Regions from separate parts of the Homo sapiens genome. Here region 2 is linked to region 1. The links are contacts of gene promoters, found by promoter capture Hi-C in blood cells and fetal thymus (Javierre and others, 2016). All regions are on one chromosome and are shown on one strand. The core of a region is centred on a gene start or on the middle of the fragment in contact, and the rest is flanking DNA. Distances in the headings are between cores, read along the strand shown. Region 1 holds the start of APOF (apolipoprotein F). Region 2 overlaps BAZ2A (bromodomain adjacent to zinc finger domain 2A).

Region 1 (5,648 bases), core at 918-3,417:
TCTCCCGCCTCAGCCTCCCAGGTAGTTGGGACTACAAGCGTGCATAACTCCGCCAGGATAATTTTTTGTATTTATTGTAGAGACGGGGTTTCGCCATGTTGCCCAGGCTGATCTTGAACTCCTGACCTCAGGTGATCATCCCGCCTCAGCCTCTCACAGTGCTGGGATTACAGGCGTGAGCCACCGCACCTGGCTAATAGCTATTTATTGAAAGTACTGTGATAAGCATTTTAGATTCATTGTATCATTTTAAATTTACAGGGCAACTCATTGAGGTTAAAATCATTCTATCTCCTTTAGAAACTTCAAAACTGATCTTAGTTCAAGAAAGAAGTTACTATTCAGTGATCACCGAGGCTCTAACAAGTGGAGCCTAGATTCGAAACCAAACCCTGTGACTTCAACACCCAAACATTTACGTTCTTACGTTTTACTGTACAGCCTTCCTCCTGGATAAATCAGATTAAAATTTTGAAGACATGTATATAGCTTGTCAGGGTAGTACAGTTATTAATTCTGTGGTTACCACATTCTTTTATATCTCAAGACTCCCAGCCCCAGGATCTAAGTCATAGCTCTTGATTATGGCCCACCCCCAGTAGGGAGCTGAACTTACTACTTCTGATATGAAAGAAGCCAGAGTAGTTGTTTCTTCCAAGTCACTCACATCTGAGATGGCCCTCAAACCCTCCTTGGTGGTCTCCGGCTGAGAGATGTTTGCGTCTTTCTGATCTTGGTAATACTGGATCAACTGCTGAACCCCAGACCTTAATGCAGGTTTAAGTGCAGCACTGATCGCTAGACCCATAGGCCCCCCTGACATCCCAGCCATGGTCATCAGAAGGTCATATCCCAGATCTATGGCCCCATCTCGGCCTCGTTCCCTGGCCTTGCCCAGGCAGTTTTGAGTAGCATAATACAAAGCTGTGCCCAGGTTGTAGAAGGTTCCCACTCCTGGCAGCAGCTGGACTACATTGTGCACAGCTTGCTCCTTCTCATTCTCACAGTCCTCTGTCGGGAGGGAGCGCCCGACCCTTCCTGTGCTTTGCTGCTCCCTGGCTAACAGCTGCAGAGCAGAGGCCAGGGCTTCCACTGACACGTTCCTCTCTGTGCTTCTGCCTTTCTGGAGCCCTCGAAGATGCTGGATGAGGACCTGTGTAGCATTCACACCACCCTGGCGGTAGAGCTGTAGCTGTAGAGCCCAAACATCAGCCTGACAACCAGCTTCCTCCAGGGCATTCCTTAGAGCCAGGCTTACCAAGAACTTGGGTAGAGGGGCCATGTGGCTGAAACCAGGCAGTGACTTTGGGTGCAGAAATTGGCAGGACAAGGGGTCTGAGGAGGGTGTCTGGGATTCCAAGGACAAGGGAAAGTGCATCAAGACATTTGTCTGCTTTCCATATGAAGTGGCATCCACAGGGTGCAGCAGGAGGTAGCAAAGTAGCAGCTCAACTGGTATCATGATGAGTCTGAGGCCACGCATGTCTGGAGCAGAGTACCCTAGAAAGGGGAGAAATCCGAAACATACAAACCATTTCCCTAAGGGCGATGGTGAGCCCAAGACTCAGTTAGGGGGACACCTCATACATCACCTGCTTCCAAGCTTTTGTACTTTCTTTTTAGAGACAGGGTCTTGCTCTGTTGCCCAGACTAGAGTGCAGTGATGGGATCACAAATCACTGCTGCCTTGAATTCCTGGGCTCGAGGGATCCTCCTGCCTCAGCCTCCCAAGCAGCTGGGACTACAGGTGCGTGACACCATGCCCAGCTAATTTTTAAATTTTTTGTAGAGACGTGGTTTTGCCATCTGGCCCAGCCTAGTTCTGAACTTTGGGCTCAAGTGATCCTTCCACCTCCGCCTCCCAAAGTGATAGGCTTCCAGATGTGAGCCACCGCGCCTGGCCCCAAGCTTCTGTTCTTTTTAGGTAAAGGCCTAGGAAATAGGAAATGCACCCCAGTTGCTCCCACTTGGTCTCCCCCATTTACAGGTCACCAGGGACTTCTGTTTTATTTCCACCCATATATAGGGACCCCAAATTACCACACAGTCCAGTCATTGAGAAGTGAGACTGCCTTGGTAGGTTTGATCGCTTCCTGATCCTGTTCTGCCTAGTTCTGTGTCCCATGAGGAAAGGAGATATTTGCTTTCCCCTATGATCAGTGAAGGATGTAATCTCTGCAAATATTTGCCCATTTATACTGGCTGCTCAAACCTTGTGCCCCTTGTCACACACTCAACCTCTATGCCTACAGTCCTGTTCTTTGGCATTTCCTGTATGTCCCTGCCACATTCCCACTCTAAGCTCATGATAGGAGCCAGGGAAATTCAGAATTAGGAAAGATGAGATGTTTGTGATACTCTCATTTCTCTTCATTTTAAAAATTAAATTAGCGGCTGAGCATGGTGGCTCACGCCTGTAATCCCAGCACTTTGGGAGGCCAAGGCGGGCGGATCACAAGGTCAGGAGTTCGAGACCAGCCTGGCCAATATGGTGAAACCCTGTCTCTACTAAAAAAAAAAAAATATATATATATATATATATATATATACACCCAGGCGTGGTGGTGGGCGTCTGTAGTCCCAGCTACTCAGGAGGCTGAGGCAGGAGAATTGCTTGAACCCGGGAGGTGGAGGTTGCAGTAAGCCAAGATCGCACTACTGCACTCCAGCCTGGGTGACAGAGTGAGACTCCGTCTTAAAAAAAAAAAAGGAGGGGAGCTGACACCTACTAAGTGGAGAGGGGCAAGGCTAACACTGGTCACATATGTGTTTAAGGGAAGAGGTGAAATAAAGAGCATTCATCTGTCCTAAGTGGTCTCCAACATTTCTAACTACTTACTGTGTGCCATCCTTGAATACAGTCCTGGGAAAGGAGACTCATTACTTATGTGATATTGAATAGCTGAAATGAGCCGGGATCAATTCCTGGATCATTTTCCTCACAAAGCACTTCAGAATAGCTGTGGAACATTTGATAGATTATATTGTCACTGTCCATGGACAATTTAAATGATCTTGAGAGCTTCTTCAACTTTTTGCCTAATTCTTCAATATGCTCCCAAGACTCATACCTGCAGTTCTTGGTGATGTGGACACCCAAAACTTTGAACTGTGACACCAAGCATCATGGGAGATGGTTTCTCAGCAAACTCAATCACCATCTGAGCTACCTGGTAGGCCAGCTACCCCAGTGGGTATATTTGCCACCATCCATACATTTCCCAGGATGGGCAGCTGGGTGCTGGGTTTATTCACACTTCCCTAAGGGACTACTAGATTCGTCACAATGATGTTGGTATTGCCTTCCTCCCCATTGAACTTTTTGACTCTCACGGATGAGGGTTTCAGTGGTATCCTTTCCTCGCATCTGAAACTGCAGAACATGGGCCTCAGTTGGGCAGCCCACCTCCTCCAAGGGCACCCTCAGAGCTAAGTTGGACAGGTACTCAGGCAGAGGGGCTAGGGAGGGGGCTGTGTGTAAGAGATCTTGGCAGATCCTGGGATCTGGGAGAGGAATCTGGCTCTCCATGTTCTCCAAATAATGGAGAGCATGTTTGATGGATGCCCAGTCTCTGTTAAAGATGGCTGGAGGGTCAGAGTCTCATTCTGAGCATTTCTTGGAAAGGCAGACACCAGGGACAGCAGGACACAGCAAAGCAGCAGCACAGCTTGGACCATGGGGGGACAGCAGAGCAGCCCTGCTGGAAGGAAGCAGTGCTCAGGTTGGGAAGTGGAGAAAGGCTCAGGACAAAGAGACACCAAGACTGGCCAGAGCTAGAAAGTGTCTTAGCTCTTGGAAACTTCGGTTGCCCTGAGCACACCTCATCTTCACTCTTAAAGGATGTGGGTGATCCTCCTATTTTGAGGAGAAACAAGTCAGAGGAAAAAAACAGTCCAAACATCTCATTTGCTTTGGTATCTTCATGACCTGAATTACTATTATTGTTGTTGTTGCTGTTTTTAATCTGCCCTTTCCCAGAATCACAAGGAAACCAGAAAGTTGATGGCTTCCAAAACAGTGAAGGACAAAACATTTGCAAATATTTATGCATCTCTTCCCAGCCCAGACTTTGTCCTTCTCACCTTTGACCCATACTGACAAACTGACCTTTCCCCTTTTAGGCCCTGCAGTCCTGTCCCATATCTTTTTTTTTTTTTCTTTTTCTTTTTCTTTTCCTTTTTTTTTCTGGAGACACAGTCTCACTCTGTTGCCCAGGGTAGAGTGCAGTGGCACGATCACAGCTCACTGCAACCTCCACATCCCGGGTTCAAGCGATTCTTGTGTCTCAGTCTCCCTAGTAGTTGGGATTACAGGCACGCACCACCATGCCTGGCAAATTTTTGTTTTGTTTTGTTTTCTGGAGACAGTCTCACTCTGTTGCTCAGGCTGGAATGCAATGGCGTGATCTTGGCTCACTGCAACCTCCACTTCCCAGGTTCAAGAGATTCTCTTGCCTCAGCCTCCCGAGTAGCTGGGACTACAGGTGTGCGCCACCACGCCTAGCTAATGTTTTTGTATTTTTAGTAGAGATGGAGTTTCACCATGTCAGTCAGGCTGGTCTCAAACTCCTGACCTCGAATGATCTGCCTGCCTCGGCCTCCCAAAGTGTTGGGATTACAGGCGTGAGCCACGGCACCCAGTGACATATCTTTTCTATCCTAAGGTTTTACCCTAAACCTATATTTGAGCTGAGGAAAAGGTCCTCCGTATCTTCTTGAGGGGAGAAAGGGTAAGGCAGAATAGCTGGTGATCTCTGGGACCCCTAAACCATTTTTCTTTTCTTTTTTTTTCTGAGACGGAGTTTCGCTCTTGTTGACCAGGCTGGAGTGCAATGGCGCGATCTCAGCTCACTGCAACCTCCGCCTCCCAGGTTCAAGTGATTCTCCTGCCTCAGCCTCCCAAGTAGCTGGGATTACAGGCGTGTGCCACCATTCCCGGCTAATTTTGTATTTTTGGTAGAGACGGGGTTTCTTCATGTTGGCCAGGCTGATCTTGAACCCCTGACCTAAGGTGATCTGCCCACCTTGGCCTCCCAAAGTGCTGGGATTACAGGCTTGAGCCAGCCACAGCGCCTGGTCACCATTTTTCTTATTAAAAGAATATATTGGTTGGGAAGCCAAGGCAGGCAGATGGCTTGAGCCCAGAAGTTTGAGACCAGCCTAGGCAACATGGCGAAAGCCCCGTCTCTACAAAAATTATAAAAATTAGCCAGGAGTGGTGGCATGCACCTGTAGTCCCAGCTACTGGGGAGGCTGAGGTGGGAGGATCACCTGAACCTGGGGAGGTCAAGGCTGCAGTGAGCCATGATTACACCACTGCACCATCCAGACTGGGTGACAGAGCGAGACTTTGTCTGAAAAAGAGAATATACTGGATGGGAGTCCAGGGAAACTGGACAGATTGACAAATAAGACAAAATCAGAGCAACTTTTTTTTTCTTTTTTAGAGTCCAGTCCAGGTATTGCTCTATCTCCCTGGCTGGAGTACAGTGGCCTGATCATGGCTCACCACAGCGTTTAACTCCTGGGTTCAAAAGATCCTCCTGCCTCAGCTTCTCAAGTAGCTGTGACTACTGGTGTGCACCACCATGCCTAGCTAAAATTTTTTTTTTTTTTTTTTGTAGAGATGAGGTTTCACTATGTTTCCC
Region 2 (5,648 bases), core at 1,211-3,710, 250 kb after region 1:
CCTCACGATCCGCCCGCCTTGGCCTTCCGAAGTGCTGGGATTACAGGTGTGAGACACTGTGCCCGGCCTATTATTTTTTTTAGAAACAGGGCCTTGCTCTGTTGCCCAGGTTGGAATGCAATAACACAACTGAAGTTTACTGTAGCCTCCAAACTCCTGGGCTCAAGTGATCCTCTGCTGCCTGCCTCAGCCTCCTGGGTAACTGGGATTATTAAGCACACACCACCATGCCTGGCTCCCAATTATCTTTTGAATTCAGATGTGAATTCTGAACCTCCATGATAGTAGAAATGGGTAAGGTAAAAGGGTACAACTGAACCAGTATATGATAAGGAGCTAAAAGATGGAAAGAAAGGGCAAGAAAGTCCTCTCCTCTGGGCTAAACACACCTGGGGGCAGCCCAAGGTTTCACTGGTAACAGCAACTCAAGAAAGACCATGGCTGGAAAAGTAGTATTCCCAAGCGCTGGGACTAGGATGCTGGATTCCAAGGAGAAGCTGATTCAGATTCATTCTTCCCAGATAATGTTAGTTACACTCCTGGGAAATCCAGGTATTAGCAATTCATCAACATTTTAGATACCTCATGGAGGGAGCAGAATCCCAAAGTAAGAAATACCACTGTACCTTGGGCCTCCAGTTTCTTTAGGGGGCGGTTGTCTGTCTTGTTCAATAGCTCAGTGATTTTGACCTTAGGTGGCCGACCTCGACCCCGTTTCACCTTGGGGACTTCCTTAGTCTTAGCCTTCTCAGTGTTTCGAGGTCGACCCCGTTTGCCAGTAATTGCCTGAATCCTCGACGGGATCTCCTCTGCTGAGAGCTGCACCCACTGCAAGCCCTAAGGTAGCAAGGGAGACTGTTACAGTAGTAAGGAATCAGTGCAGGCCACGAGGCCCTCGGAACCATTCAATGCCCCAGAACCTTCAAACCCCACGAGAGGAAGCTGCAGCTTGTCCACCAACTCTTCCTCAGGGACAAAAGCATATTTAACCCTTGGGTCTGCACCTCTGGCGTGTCTCTTTCTTCAAAGAAATCTCCAACAGGCATACGGGGACTGAAGCTGAAGTGCTCTCGGCGGACACTGTGTACCACGTTGCGGCTCAGGTACTAAGAGGAAGAAGTAAAGTAACATTAATAAAGTTGGATCCTACCATGTCTTTGGCCAGCAAAGGCATAAGCAGAACAGGCCCAGAGCAGACAATGCCAGCCTGTTGTCACTGAGCCCAAGAACGGAGTCTTGGGCAGTGGAAAGGAGTCCACTGAGCCCAAGAAAGCAGTCCTTTAAAAAAAGCTACATTACCTTGATCACTTCTGGAAATTGCTTCATCCTCTTCCCACAGGGGCCATAATACCAGGTCTCCCCCTGCCATCGGTGGCTGCCCTTCTTGATGCGCACCTCTCTCCGCCACCTGCCAGAGAAGCACATGGGCCCTGCCGCCAGGTCACACCCCTACCCACTCCCATGCCACCTAAGCGCGAAGCCCTCTGAGCAGATGGCCCTCCCCACATTTGTATCTCTAGAACTGCATGCAGATGCAAAAGCACCAAGAGAGATAAGCTTGGCTAGAAGGCTGACTTGAGCTCCAGCAAATACATCAAGGCCCTTAGGAGAAAAGCACTACACCAAACTGCACAAGCTCAGAGAGATCTCCATCCCTCCTTTACAAAATCAGTGAGATAAGCTGCCAGAAACCCCTCCCTGAGCCATTCAGGGCAGTTACTGGATTTCCAGTAAAGAGGATAAAGACCTAAGGGGAATAAAGACAGAAGACAAAGGGCAGGGAGGCAAGCAGAAAAATAAATTTGCTGCTGATTCCATGAAAAGACTCAATATGCCAGGGTTTAGTTAGGAACTCTGTGTTCTGAGCAGAACACAAAGTTAGTCAGAGTTAGTTCTAAGACTAACTCTAATCTTTCTCTCAAAATTTTAAGCAGTACTCAGACTTGGTGACCACAAGTAGCCTTGAGGGGCAGGGGTGGGGAAGATCCAGGAAGGCAGTTATTTCCACAAGGCCCTGGTGTCAGCTAGTTTGTTCATTTTGGTCATGTACTGTTCCTGCCCTTACCTCTCCTAAGAGCATTAAAACAACAAAACCACCTCAATTCATTAGTACTAAGTCACTCCTCATTCATTACTATCCCTTGTCCACAGAAATAGGACAAGCCAGCTGGTTTGGATGTGAGCCCTAGGGTTTGGAAAAGATAATAGCTGGAGCTCCTTGGGCAAAATTGAGTCACTACAAGATGAAAAAAGAATAGGTGATGGAAGACAGACCTTGAGAGAAGAAGGAAAACCTAGGAATCTCATGCCAAGAAACATTATCACTGCAGATAACTGTCCTGTAATCTACTCTTGTCTGGCCCATTCCTCCCCCACCTCAGAGGAAAAGAGGCATTCCCTTCTTTCTAGAGTTGTGCATTAAACTTGTCAAGGTCAATAAATGTAGCAAACTAGAGCATTTACCCATGTTGGAGGGGAAGACGAACTTCTTCTGGGGTAGCAATACGTCTCCTCATGACATCACCTTGGGAGGAAGGGATACCCAAGTTAAGAGTTCAAGCAAAATATTTAAACAATAGGCCAATAGGGAAAGGCTAACTACAACATGGGACAGAAAAGTTTCTTGGAACCAGACAGGGATAGAATAGAATCTGGATACTCACCACTACCAGAAGCAGTGAGTCCTTCTCCAGTGATCTCTTCCACGTCAGCAGTGGTTTCTAGAAAGCTGCTGACATCCTTATTTGCTGGGGAGGCTGTTGGAAAGGCAGCTGCTGGGGAAGTTACGGGAGAGGCTTTTGGGGATGTCACTGAAGCCGTCAACGGGACTTCTAAGGAGACTGCTGGGAGGACTGCTGAGGAAGCTGGAGAGACCACTGAGAAGACTGCTGGAGAGACAACTGTAGAAGCTGCGGGACAAACTTCTGGAGAGATTTCTGGGGAGGCTGCTGGAGAAACCACTAGGGAGACTGCTGGGGAGGTTGTTGGCGAGACTGCTGGTGAGGTTGCTGGATGTAGCTGAATAGTGGATGACTGATCAGGAGCTGGCTGGGTCAGGGATGGTGGGAAGTCTGAAGATTGAGTTTCCATTTCTTCCTGTTCAGCGTCACTACCATTATTCAGGTCAAAGCTGTTATCTAGAATCCAAAGGGACAGGATAGGCTTTAAAAAAAAAAAAGGCATCACATAAAACAAGAGAATCTACTCAGTCAACCCTGGACCAAGCTAAACAGGGTTACTTCAAGGGGTCTTCCCTAGGGTTGGAAAAAGAAGTAGCTTTTTCTCCCAACCAATCATGAGGATTAAAGGGTAAAGTTGCTACAGATGTCATTGTGTGAAGAAATACCTTTTACCTGGTGCCAATAAAGCTTCTAGCCTCCTTCTCCCTACAAATTCCAAGTCTCACAAGTTCTTCAAAGCAGAGGGCACAGGTCGGAGTATAGCAGCCTATACCTCTTTTAGTTCCACCATACACTATCCCATAGCCCCTCAGCTCCCAGCAAGGTGCTCTTGCTTTCCTACTTTTTTTTTGAGATGGAGTCTTGCTCTGTTGCCCAGGTTGGAGTGCAACGACACAATCTCGGCTCACTGCAACCTCTGCCTCCTGGGGCCAAGCGATTCTCCTGCCTCAGCCTCCCAGGTAGCTGGGATTACAGGCATGTGCCAACACACCTGGCTAATTTTTGTATTTTTAGTAGAGGCGGGGTTTCACCATGTTGGCCAGGTGGTCTCAAACTCCTGATCTCAGGTGATCCACCCGCCTCGGCCTCCCGAAGTGCTGAGATTACAGGCGTGAGCCACTGCGCCCAGCCAGATTTCCCACTCTTAAGGCCCTAACTATGAAACTTATTCTCTCATCTTTTCTCAGGTAAAGGTCTTTCTTTGTCCTACCTACCGTCACTTACCTTGCAGGACAGACTCCCCTAGGACAGGTGGAGAGGTGGGACTGGCAAAGATAGAGGTTGATGTTTGACTATCATCTGCCAGGAGACTGAAGGCAGTAGCATTATTGAGGGAAGGGCAATCAAGGGCAGAAATCACAGGGCTGTCCTCAAGAGGCAGCTTGTCCTCTGCACCCATCAGCTCCGTGTCATCAATACCATATAGTCCTCCACTCACTGGCTCTGTTTACAAGGGTAGAAAAATCAGAGCAGGATAATGAGAAAAAAATCAGAAAGCAAGATTTAAGAAACACTGGTCAGAAAACATCCAATTCTAGTTCCCACAATGTGAAGATTCTTCCTAATATTAAGTTAGGTAACAAGTAAAGCCTTCTCCCTGAAAGAGTAGTCATGAGATTATAGGGATCATAAAAGTTTGAGGGGAGGCCGAGGCAGAAGAATTGCTTGAGGCCAGAGTTCAAGACCAGCCTGGACAACATAGCAAGACCTCATCTCTACAAGGTGAAAATGAAAGGAAAGGCATTGGTGGTATTATCTACCCAGAGACCTATGCAAAATTCTAGGATTTATCATAAAATATGTCTTTCTTGTACTTCAGTGGAGTAAAAGGTAACTGCTCACTGACAAATGTTTTCTTCCTAGTTTGTCAGAACCCAGAAAGATCAACTGTGTGATAATAAGTCCCTACCCAGTGAATTATTACAGCCCAGAGCTCTTGGCCAAAAGGAATACTGGGAAAGAACCTGGGACATGAACCAATTCAGCTCAGAATTCAGTTAGGGCACCAAGTCCTGTGGCATGTAACTGTGGTCTGCCTTAGGCCTACCTGGAAGCCCCAGTGCCCCTGATTGCCTAATACTTTTCCCATTTTACTGTCTCTTTCAGGTAAAGTTTGGCTACTCTGCATGGATAAGTTAAAGGGACATAGCCTCCAAACCTACCTGGTGCCAGAGAGTTGAAGGGCTCCAGAGAGTCTTCACTGAGGATTGGAGTGTCTTCCAGTTGATCAGGAAGATGTGAAGGATCATCTAAACAGCTCACTGTGGGGTCAGGGACCAGGACTGAGACCTCTTGGTGTAACGATTCCACAGAAGGGACAGAGCCATTGTAGCCACACATCTTCAGTTCTAGGAAATCACAGGAGAGACCAAAAGTCAAAATCAGTGCCTTATATTGGTTCACTTAGCTATACTAGGCAGTCAATCTTTGCTAGAAGGATGTTCATTCATTCAACATTTATTGCGGCCAGTTCATTGCTGGGAACCGATCACATCAAGATACTCTGAGCAGAGATGTGCTGGTAAAATCAATCCTACAGCAGGCAAAGAGAGGAAAAGAGAGTGGGGTCTGATACAACATCTCTATCATGTTCTCAGATATCTCCTCCATCCATTGGGAAACGAGAAAACATCCTGTAATTTTACAGAGTGGTGGTTACCCTTGTACCAGGAATCAACTGGAAGCTAAGCTTTTATCTATTTTGAGGGAAAAGATGAGAGGGGCTGTCACGTGTACTAATGCTAAACAACAAAAAAAAGGAAACTGAGTAGACAAATAATGATATGCTCTGCCTGCTTCCTTCCCTCCTTCGCATGCCAATCACTACATTGGGCTCAGACGACTTTAACAGCCAGTCTGATCCTGCCACAGTCAGTTAAAACAGCCTCAATGCCCGCTGCTAGACCCTAACCACTCCGTATATTTTGAAAGAAGCCTTTCTTGATGCAGGGTGTCTGTTGGGGCTGT

The links. The method cuts DNA at HindIII sites, captures the fragments that hold promoters and counts their contacts. A CHiCAGO score of 5 or more calls a contact.
Region 2: a contact is called between a fragment that was not itself captured here and the fragment with the promoter of APOF in region 1, in 2 of 17 cell types (erythroblasts and M2 macrophages). The highest score is 5.6, in erythroblasts.

Annotation. Positions count from the first base shown.
Region 1 is chr12:56,360,690-56,366,337 of GRCh38, forward strand. It overlaps APOF (apolipoprotein F), which reads right to left and starts at 2,168. Exons shown (of 2, transcript NM_001638.4): 1 at 2,041-2,168; 2 at 1-1,500. The coding sequence starts at 2,056. The coding sequence ends at 536. The HindIII fragment of the contact is 6,609 bases long and covers 1,907-5,648 here.
Region 2 is chr12:56,609,110-56,614,757 of GRCh38, forward strand. It overlaps BAZ2A (bromodomain adjacent to zinc finger domain 2A), which reads right to left. Exons shown (of 29, transcript NM_001300905.2): 4 at 4,844-5,029; 5 at 3,906-4,124; 6 at 2,664-3,137; 7 at 2,464-2,524; 8 at 1,300-1,408; 9 at 1,005-1,106; 10 at 627-837. Among named protein-coding and RNA genes, the nearest start is that of BAZ2A, 18 kb to the right of the region's middle. The HindIII fragment of the contact is 1,811 bases long and covers 1,556-3,366 here.